Linked DNA regions of Homo sapiens: region 1 is linked to region 2. The links are contacts of gene promoters, found by promoter capture Hi-C in human tissues and cell types (Jung and others, 2019). All regions are on one chromosome and are shown on one strand. The core of a region is centred on a gene start or on the middle of the fragment in contact, and the rest is flanking DNA. Distances in the headings are between cores, read along the strand shown. Region 1 has its middle 110 kb from the start of P2RY1. Region 2 holds the start of SUCNR1 (succinate receptor 1).

Region 1 (5,573 bases), core at 1,392-3,891, 850 kb after region 2:
GAATTTTACCTTATATGGCAAAAAAAAGGTCTTTGTCCATGGTTATCAAGTTAAGAATCCTGAGATGGGAGATTACTCTGGATTATCTGGACCCAATGTCATCACAAGTGTCCTTACAAGAGACAAACAGAGGGATATTTGAAACAAACACGAGAGTGTGAAGACAAAGCAAAGGGAGATTCCATGAAGACAGGAGTGATGCAGCCACAAGCCAAGAAATGTCAGCAGTCACCAGAAATTGGAAGAGGCAAGACACAGATTCTTTCCCCTGGAGCTTCCTGAAGGAGCACAGACCTGCCATGCCACATTTTGATTTCAGACCAATGATACTGATTTCAGATGCTGGCCTCCAGAACTGTGAGAGAATAAATTTCTGTTGTTTCAAGCCACTATGTTTGTGGTATTTGTTACAGCAGCCTCAGAAAACTTATACAGTGCCTGAAGCTGTACCAATTTTTTAAAAAGACACAAACCTGGCTTTTTATTTACAAAGTGTATGATTGCTAAAAGTAAGACAGAAATTCTAACTAATAACTGCCTACTTTATGCCAGGCATGTAGGCACTTTATTTTCATAATTTCATTCTTCACAACTCCATTCTTTCTGCCTGACCAGCATTCACATTTTTTAGTAAGAGCTTTCACATTGGTGTAAGCTTTAACTTGGGCTTTTTAATGCAGTGGTTTGAATTTACATGTGAAGTTATGGGTAAATAGTGTGTGGTTAGCTAATAATAATAGCATTTGCCTTAGATGGTATATGTTTTTCAGTTTTTAATTTTTACTCAAAGTAGCTGTAGTTATTGGGTTTCCAGCTATTTTGATACCAAGCCTGTGAGGTTTGATATCAGCTATTCTGTCTGGAGTGAATATTAGGGAAATCTGAAGGCCAGACCCCAGTCTAGTCAGTTAATGAGTTGAGAGAGAATAGAAGAGATATTTCTTAGGGAGGAAAGGTTCAGCCGACAGAAAACCATAATTCATTAATCATTGTTTTTTTTGAGACAGGGTCTCACTTCAGTTGCCCAGGCTGGAGTGCAGTGGTGCAATCTCAGCTTACTGTAGCCTAGACTTCCCGGGCTCAGGTGATTCTCACATCTCAACCTCCCGAATAGCTGGGATTACAGGTGCACACCACCACATCCAACTAATTTTTTGTGTTTTTAGTAGACAACGGGGTTTTGCCATGTTGCCCAGGCTGGTCTCAAACTCCTAGACTCAGGCATTCCACCCGGCTCAGCTTCCCAAAGTTCTGAGATTACAGGTGTGAGCCACCGTGCCTGGCAGCAATCACTCTTATTAGCTATCATCTGAGCAACTGCTACTTATCTCTAAATATTCAAGAAAATGCAGAATTGGTAGGAGGCAGTCACCCTAGGAAGTAGTCCACAAACCCTTAGGGTTTGGAGGGGTCTGGATAAAAAGGCAAAATGCCATGTATAGTAGATACAGGTTGACTATTTCTTGTCTGAAAAGCTTGGGACCAGAAGTGTTTCAGATTTCAGAATTCAGATTTCTCAGATTTTGGAATATTTGCATATATGTAATGAGATATCTTAGAGATGGGACTCAAGTCTAAATACAAAATTTACTTATGTTTCATATACACCTTACATACATAGCCTGAATGTAGTTTTATACAATCTTTTAAATAATTTTGTGCATGAAACAAAGTTCATATAGATTAAGCCATCAGAAAGCAGAAATCACACTATTTCATCCACCCCTGTGGTGTCATGTTAATGCTAAAAAAGTTTTAGATTTTGGAGCATTTTGAATTTCAGATTTTTGGATTAGGTATCCCCAATCTGTATCATGTGTTTTCATCAACTCCTATGCCCAACCAAGCTTCAGTGCTGCTCTGATAGTTCCTCTGAGAACACCAGCCCCAGTGGTAGTTGCCATAGAGTTCTGAAACAAGAGAACTATTGATGATTTTCCCAATAATTGAACACAGTGGGCAAGGGAAGCAACAGAACTTTATTTTACTATGCCTTTTTCTGCTGCTACCAGCGGCCTTCTTCCCTTGACAGCAGGCTCACCATATCCCCACGCCAAAACATGCACCCTTCCCAACTACTTTCCTTCTCTCAAAAGCTTTCTCGCGTATTTGTTGATTCTTTCTTGGCAGTTGTATTTCCTTCATAGAATGTTAACCAAAGAAGAGAGGGCCCTATGAGCATCTCTCCAGAGCAGACATTGGACTTGCACATCAACCCCCAACTCAAGCTTATTTACAAGCCTAAATCTGGCTTCACTCCTACCAGAGTGAAGCCCCCAGATGTCCCACTACTATTAAATCTGCTGGACTCTCTGTCAGAAGGTCTGTTTCTTGGTGACTATCGAGATTGACCTAGCTTCTTAGGGACTTAAAGGCTGCAGGAGCCACCCGACCTCTTCTTTGCCTTGTGCGTATAGCCTGAGATTTCTCCTCTTTTCTCTCTACTGACTCTGGAAATCTGGGAGGTAGCATTAACTTTTCATGTGTTTTTTCCCTTTAAATGTTATATGGTATGCTTTAGTTTCTATGTCAATGCCAAAGTTGTTACAGGTAAAGCAATCTTCTTTTATTTCCACCTTCCACGCTCAGAAATTAGTCTTAATCAGATTGAAACATCTGGACAAGAGAATGGGTACAAACTCCAAGTCTGGCCAGACAGACTGTCATAAAAATGTGAACCTTGGACAGAATGTGATAAAACCTGAAAAAGCATTGGAACCAGATGCTTTCAAAGAAAGTGCTTCAATTTGTCTGAGTTCCAGCCTTTAAAATTAGCATATTTTTAATATTGTTTAAGTTAGACAGTATATATTTGTCTGGTCAACAAAAACCTTACTTAACTAACCTAACTTGTAAGTTATTAGAAAAAAGTGAAATAAGATAATGTATGTAAAACATTGAGCATGATGCCTGGCACAATCATTCAATTGAATGTAAACTATGGATATAATTAAGGGTGATAGTAAATATCCAATCAGAATATGTACAAGCACTTTATGGAATTTATAAAGCACTATACAAATGCCAGGTATTACAAGTTTATTTTTATTTTTACTCTAAGGGGACAATTTAACATGTTCAGATTTTAAACTATTGTTACTTGAATTCACGTTAATTATTTAAAGGGTTCAGTCTTGTGTTCACTCCACTATATTAGAACTTATTGTACCTGTTCTTTCTCTTTAGATAAACAATGATAATGTGTTCAAATTAACCCAGTTGGAATTAATTAAATTAGCCTATTGGAAAAATAACATATTTGGGGTACATTTCTGAAGACCCATCTCAACGTTAAACGTTTCCTTAATAAATTAATAAAATCAGGTGATGGTCTGTCTCTTCTGACCATCTGGGTTTTGACACTAATTGCTGTTGATGAGTTCTTTCTGTTGAATTTTTAAGTTCAGGTAGAAACAACATTTCGTTCTTTATCATTCATGCTTCAATTCACACTTCCTCACTAAGGAGACTTCAAACAAACAGATTAGGAAAAATTAGCTGGGATATAACTCCAGGGTATGTTCATATACTTTAATTAGAAAATATGTTTAGGCTTATAAGTTAAATATTTCTAGATAAACTTAATTAAAAATAGATAACACCATCAAGTAGAAGAAATAGAATTAGGTTTTGCCTTCCTGGTGTAATCAGTAGATAGTTGACTAAGAATCTTTTTTGCCCAGATATAACAGGTGTGTACCGTTCAATCAACCAATTAGCAAACATCTTCTTAGTGGTTTTGTGCTTAGCCATTGATATTGCAGTTACTAAGGTTACACAAGATATATAAAAGAAGAAAGGAATTCTAGAGTCATAGACAGTTGAAGATTCAACTTCGCTACCTATTAAATATTGTATTTACTCTTCCTCGGCTGAAAATAAGGGGGGCTAATGGCTCAGCCAACCTTTCAAGGGGTTGATTGAATGAATAGTGCCTATGAGAATGCTTGGCAAATATCTAAAAGTTATTTTTTATAATAACTTTAATATATGGGAACTGATAAGCTTATACATTAACTAGGAAGGCATTATCAAATACAAGGTAATTTTTTTATCATTAAGTCCAAAATTGGTGATATAGACTACTTCTGGCAACATTCACAACTGGATCAGAGTTTTGTTGAGCCAACAAAATGTTAACTGATGTTTTTCTTATTTTGGTAAATATCATCATCTTGGAATCGTATTTGATACCTTTTTCTCTCTTAAGCCTATATCTGATCTATCAGAAAATCTTGTTAACTTTACTTTCAGAACAAACCTCAAGTCTGTTCATGGTTCACCACCTCCACTGTTGGAATCCCAGTCCAAGCCTCCATTATCTCTCACCTGGCAAAGTGCAGAAGCCTCCTAACTGGTTCACCTGCATTTACTTGTGCATCTCTGTTAATTATTCTCACAGTAGTCAGTGATTCTTAGTGAGCTAAAGCTTACCACATCACACACCTGTTCCCAATTCTCAAATAGCTTCCCATACATTTAGAACAAAATTTAAAAAGGTTACCAAAGTCAAAGAGGTTCTTCAGTGGGTGGCAATGGCTGCCTCTACACCTCATTTCCTCTCCCTCTTGCCTCATTCACTGGCTCCAGCCTCCTCTTCTTCCTCTTCCTCCTTAGACTCAGGATCTTGACAGCTGTCTTAGTGTTAGCTATTCTCTCTGCCTAAGATGTTGACTTCTATCTCACAGCAACTATAAAAGTACAAATACAAAAAATAATTCTGAATTGTGAAAGGGAAAGCTGTTGGCAAAAGGCAAAACAATATTTTAGAAAGCAACATAAAAGAATATCTTCATCACTTTGGGTGTCTTTGTTTGGGCTGCTATAACAAACTACTGTAGGCTGAGGGACTTATAAACAACAGATGCTGTATTTATTTCTCACAGGCTTAGATGCTGGGAAATCCAAGATTAAGGCACTGGCTGATTTACTGTCTTTTGAGGGCCCACTTTTTGGTTCCTTCTCATTGTGCCTTCTCACTGTGTTCTTTCATGGCAAAAAAAGGCAAAGGAGCTCTCTAAGGCCTCTTGGATAAGGTCATTAATCCCATTCATGAGAGCTCTTAGCTCTTCCCTCATGACCTAATCATCTCCCACGACCTTATCTCCTAATACCATCTGTGTTAGTCTGTTTTGCATTGCTAGAAAGGAAGACCTGATTCTGGGTAAATTATAAAGAAAAGGGATTTATTTTGGTTTATGGTTTTACAGATGTACAAGAAACATGGTGCTAGCATCTGCTTCTGGTGAAGGCCTTAGGAAGCCAACAATCATGGCAGAAGGTGAAGGAGGAGCAAGTGTGTCACATGTAAGAGAGGGAGCAAGAGAGGTTCCAGGCTCTTTAAACAACCAGCTCTTGCATGAATAGAGTGAGAACTCACTCATTACTACAGGGAGGGCACCAAGCCATTCATGAGGGCTCCACTCCCATGACACAAACACCTCCGACAAGGCCCCATCTTCAACACTGGGGAATCACATTTCAAAATGAGATTTGTAAGAAACAAACATCCAAACCATCACATTTAGAACTAAGTTTTAACATATGAATTTGGAGACAAGGGGGCATAAACA
Region 2 (5,820 bases), core at 155-2,654:
CTGTAGGCAGTCAAGAATCAGAGTCGGTGCTTTTAGAATCCAAGTACATAGGCTTAAGCTCTGGTCCCTCCCGTTATTGATTCTGCAATCTTGAGAAAGTTAATTGACCTCTCTGAACCTTAGCTTTTTAATCTGCAAAATGAGAAAAATCTTAAATAATAACAACCTCAGAGGATTACTATATGCATTTGATGCATAAAGGTACTTAGTGTAATACCTGCCTGCCACATCACAAGAACTCAACAAATTATAGATATTTTTATTTCATGTAAATGCACATGTTTGTATACATAAATATTCATACATGTATAAATATATTTTACACATGTATATAAAGTGTGTAATATAGACACATATGTATGTATATATGTATGTGTATATATACATACATATATTTTGAGTTCCTGAGTTTTTAAGCTGTCAGATATTGGTGAGGAGAAATGCTTAGTTAGGAGGATGCCTGTAACAGAGCTTCTTTTTGGGCTTCTGCCTGTCATTGCTAACTCAATATTCAACTTACATAGCATTTAAATTGAATTACTGCTGCCTGCACAATTATGGGCTTTCTTAGTATAATCCCTATGCTTCACATCAAGAAGACTGAGTGTTTACTTGAATCTAAACCTAATATAATGCTTGGAAAAAGCCAGGTGTGCTTCCTGTCTGAAATGGTGGTAATGTACTTCCAGATGTTTTTCAGAGCATTGATTGGGATATATAAATTGCCATCTATTAAGGTTATTTTACTTAGCATCTCTCTCCCTAATCCCTAGCTATCTGATGTATCTTTTATGTGTTTCTTGATTTTAAGCACAGAAAATAAAATGGAAAATAACTTGAAGCTCTAGTATCTTTTTGCTAGTACACCAACATAGCATATATCCAGGTTTCCCTTTAAAATTTCAGTTTTATAGTTCCCTCAAAGTTATTGAAAACAGAGGTTTCGTTATTATATTCTCAATACAGAATTCACTAAGAAAATTAATTTTAAAAAAGAAGAAAAGCAGAGGCAACTGTATTCCCAATATAAGCAGTATTTACCACTTCTTATTGTGTAAATATGCAAATAAAATGAAAATAAGGAATGCTTCTCTGTTGCTTTGGTAGTGGATAAAATAAGTTCAACAGTGTTTTTCTAAAAATCTATTTGGTAAATGTGTTTCCTGTGAAATGAGTTACTTGTTTTTTGTCATTCAATTGCAAAACTGCATGTGAAAATAAAATAAATGTGAATGTGAAAATAAAAGCCTCACAAAAATTCCTCTGCATGAACATCTCTGACTGGGAGGTTTGACTGAATAAATTATTCCTGGGCTTTTGAATTATTAATCTTGGCTGCAGGATATGCAAATAGGATATGCAAATAGGACACTGTAATAACCATGTCCAGTGGCACAACACTGGGTCAGAAGCTATATCCAGCTGCTGGCAGAGTTCCTGTCAAGGGATCAAGTCTTCCAACAGAATGGTAAGCTACATGGCAAATTGTGCCTCTCAGTGTATAAAGTAAGGCCAGATTTCCTTCTAAAGGTGACCTGTGAGCAATTAAGGTTTTCAGTATTAAGTGTTTAAATTAATTCTTTATAAATAGATGTAAAACAGCAAAATAATTGAAAAAAAAAAGTCATTTTTATCTCTACGTTTATTTTTCAACAAATTAACTGTCTTCTTTTAGTTGTCAAATACTAATTTTATTTTATGTAAAAGGATTTATTATATTTGCTAACATCTCAACAACTTATATTTCAACAAAATAGTAATTGGATTTACCTAAATAAATATAACTACTTATGGGGAAAAATTAAAGTTCCTAAATGATTTGAAACAATCATGTATTTGATACATACACACACACACACACACACACACACACACACATATACATACATATATATATATATATATATATTTTTTTTTTTTTTTTTTTTTTTTAAGACAGAGTTTCACTCTTGTCACCCAGGCTAGAGTGTCTGAGTGCCAGAGTGACACATTTACAGCATGTGTTGGCTCACTGCAACCTCCGCCTCTGGGGTTCAAGCAATTCTCCTGCCTCAGCCTGCAGAGTAGCTAGGATTACAAGCGCCCACCACCACGCCCGGCTATTTTTTTTGGATTTTTTAGTAGAGATGGAGTTTCACCATGTTGGTCAGGTTGGTCTCAAACTCCTGACCTCAGGTGATCCACTCATCTCGGCCTCTCCAAGTGTTGGGATTCCAGGCATGAGCCACTGTGCTGGGGCATAATATTTTTATGTTTAGAAAATAATGTATTTGGGGGAATTTTCAGGCATCCTAAAAATTAAATTTAACATTTATGTGTGTAAAAATGATATTACCCAATAATTAATTTACTTAGGAAAAATGAAAAATTGCAGAAACCATTTCTATTCTACCTTCCATAACTTTTCAAAATGTGTGTGGTATTCTTAAAGAAGTTAATACACAATTTGTGCCATACTATTACTTTTTAATACCTTAATTTCTGGTGTAATGTATGGAATACATAAAAATAAAGTTACAAATGTTAAATTATTATATCTTTTCAGTGTGAATATATATTTTTGCTCAAATTATTTAGTAATCAAAAAAGTAATTTGTTAAAAAAAATTCTCATGTTACCATGTAAATTTGCCTTAAGGTAGCACTTAAAAGTAAACATTTTACAAATGTTATTTGTTTAATTGTGATGACTATAAAAACAAACAATTAAAAAGCTAAGAAACTATCACATATATATTTTAAAGTAAATTTCAAAAATGCAGATTTTCAAAAGGCTGAATATATTTAAAGTAAAAAACATTTTCAAGTTAAGTATTATTGGTCTGCTTATGTGAGTAAATTAGATATTGCTTCTAGTTCAATAATTCTAACAGTTTTAGATATATTTTTGGACTGGAAACTAAAGATTTCACTTTAATTTCTGCTCTTAAAAAATACCTATTCAAAATAATTCATCCAAATCAGTTACAATTTATTTATCACTATTTCCATTTCCTAAAAATTAAGAATATAGCCACTAGATAGCAGAAGAGAGAATATGAATTTTTCATGAGGGAATTTTCTCTTTAATTGGGAGTTTTGCTTAAAGGAGCAACTTACTTCATATGTTTATAGAATTGCGATGCCACACTAAAAACATACCCAACTATAAACATATCCAATTTGAAATATAGTATCTTCAAAATTTTGTATCCTAGTGAAGTTAAATTGGTCTGCAAATATTGCACAGCTCATATTTATAAAATCATAATCTATTAGAATTATGAACTTAGAAAAAATGAAACAAATGTATCAAAAAATTATAAAACATCATAAAAAAATCTCATTTTTATGAATAAAAATTCAGGTAAATATTAAAATGTAAAAGGGTACCCAAATATTAGGAGTGGTCTGTTTACAGACCATTTTTATTTCTTATTTTTGCCTATTTGATTTTATGAGTGTTACACCTTAACAATAATTTTACACATACATTTTTAAAAAGTTGTTTCAAAAAAATGAAGAAACAACTGTATGAGAAGAAAGACAAATATGATAATTTAGTCATTCATTTCTCTTATTTCAGCTCTACTCCTTCCCTACTACTCCTTCAATCCCCGACCTTCTGGGCTACTATAAAGCAGAATGCTCCTTGACTTTCATGTGACCCGTCACCTGCCTGAGTGATAGTTGCAGGAAATCAGGCTCTAGTTGCACAAGTCTTTGTGGCTATATTTTCCTTCCATTGCAGTCAAATCTTTCTGCTGTGCACAATACATAAGCTATTAACATTACCAGTGGTGACTAGGCAGAAAGATAAACGTTATGACCAGAAAAAAAGGAAATGCAAAAGTGAAACAAATTTCTTGTGTCAAGGAAACTTTCTATACCTTAATTTTCATTTGAATTTGTGCACCAGCTTTTTGAGTACCCACAAAATAACAAGAGCTCAGAAATAAGGCCTGAGAAGGTCCAACATTTAAAACTTGGGCAAAGAAGGATTAAGCCACAAAAGAGCATGAAAATGGAGAAAGGAGGAAAACAAGGAGATTGTTGTGTCATAGAAGATAGGAAGAGAGTGCTTCCAGAAAGTGTGGACTTAAAAGCTACTGAGAATAAATAATAATAGTAAAAACTGACCATTGAGCTAAAAAAAATAAAGTTTGTTAATATGTTAAAGCCTATTGACATTTTTGCTATATTTCTAGAAATTTAAAGTTTTTAATATTATCAAATAGATGCCAATTTTGAGAGAAAAAATGATAGGAAATTTAGATAAAAGGAGAAAGGAAATAATAAAAACTACCTGAAATCTCATCATTAGAGATAAAGCTATTAACATTTTGATGCACGTCTTTCTAGACTTCTTATGCTTATTAATTTCAGGTGTCATTTCTTAATTAAATGCTTCAGTTTTAAAATTTATCCTGGTAGATATTTAATTTTGCCTTATACAAATGTGTTTCTAAACTACAGCTACTACTACTACAATTACTAATTTTTAATACTTATCATATTATATTATATATAGTGTTGACTTTCACAGTGAAATAAGCAATGAGCTTAATCTGATGGTCTTGCTGCTTATCTGGCCTTGGAGAAAATATTTATAAAAATGCTTTGTAAATAGTCAGGTGTTCATATTCATCTCTTCACTCAACAAAGATTTATAGATCACCTACTATCTGCTGGTCACTGTGCCAGATGTGGACAATAAAAAATGAGTAAGACAAAGTTATACAAAATTCTAAGAAGTTTAGTATACAATGAAAGCATAAATGGGAGGACCTACTTTAGACTGAGGGTCAGACAGCCTACCTTGGGAAACCTACACTTGAACAGAGGCCTGAGAGAAGTATAGATATATGACAAATATGTGATGGGCCAGGAATCACAGGACAAAAACAGCAGTGAAAAGAGATTCAGATAGAGGGACTGCATGTTAAGAAGGCTCTCTGTGCATTCAAAGAGCAGGAAGAAAGGAAGATGAATTAGGAGGAGAGTAATGCCAAGCAAAATTGAAGTGGGTGCAGGGGCCAGATCATGCAGACCTTGATGTCCCCATTAAGGATTTTAGACTATATTCCTTGGATAGTGGAAAGTTAATTAAGGGTTTTGATCAAGGAAAGCTATATGATCTGATTTTGAGTTGTAGTTTTTCAAGACTGTTTAGCTATAATGGTAAAGATGAACTGATGAGGGCCAGAGAGGATGTGAGGAGACAATAGCAGAATATGACATAGAGCAAAATAGAGATAAGAGTAGCCTGGACGAGAATGATAATGAAAGCTATAGAGCAGTAATGATAGATTTGAGAAATACCCAGACATTACAGTAAACAGACTTGGTAGTTTATTCATTACTGGTGTTGAGTTTTAGATGACTTTGAGGATATTGCTTAGATTTTCGTGGTGAGCACCTGGATACATGGCAGAACCATTTACTGAAATTGGTGGATATGCTGCAGGCTTGGTAAGGAATTTGGAGAATTTGGTGTAGGATTTCTAGAGGCAGAGACATCTGAGAGAAATCAATCAATGGCAATAAACAATTATAGTTTGTAAGGCAGATACAAGCTGGGCTGGAAATCTGGGAGTTGTTGATGTATAGTTGGTCATTAAACCTCAAAAGTGAATGAGATCATTTAGGAAGAATCTATGAAAAGAAGGAGCCCAGAAATTAGCCTTGAGGAACTCAACATTTATTGCTTGAGCCAAGAAGACTTGAGCCCCAAAAGTGCCTGCAAAGAACAACCAGGGAGAAAGAAGGGAAACTAGGATATTGTCATGTCTCAGAAGGCAAAAGAAGAGTGTTTCCAGAAGACAGAGTATGAAAAACAACT

The links. Contacts are between HindIII fragments. The study calls those that stand out against the background at their distance.
Region 1: a contact is called between a fragment that was not itself captured here and the fragment with the promoter of SUCNR1 in region 2, in 1 of the 25 tissues and cell types used here (aorta).

Annotation. Positions count from the first base shown.
Region 1 is chr3:152,721,831-152,727,403 of GRCh38, forward strand. No RefSeq gene overlaps it. Among named protein-coding and RNA genes, the nearest start is that of P2RY1, 110 kb to the right of the region's middle. The HindIII fragment of the contact is 3,152 bases long and covers 1,066-4,217 here.
Region 2 is chr3:151,872,239-151,878,058 of GRCh38, forward strand. It overlaps SUCNR1 (succinate receptor 1), which reads left to right and starts at 1,405. Exons shown (of 3, transcript NM_033050.6): 1 at 1,405-1,468. All of the region lies in intron 1 of AADACL2-AS1 (AADACL2 antisense RNA 1), which reads right to left. The HindIII fragment of the contact is 10,580 bases long and covers 1-5,820 here.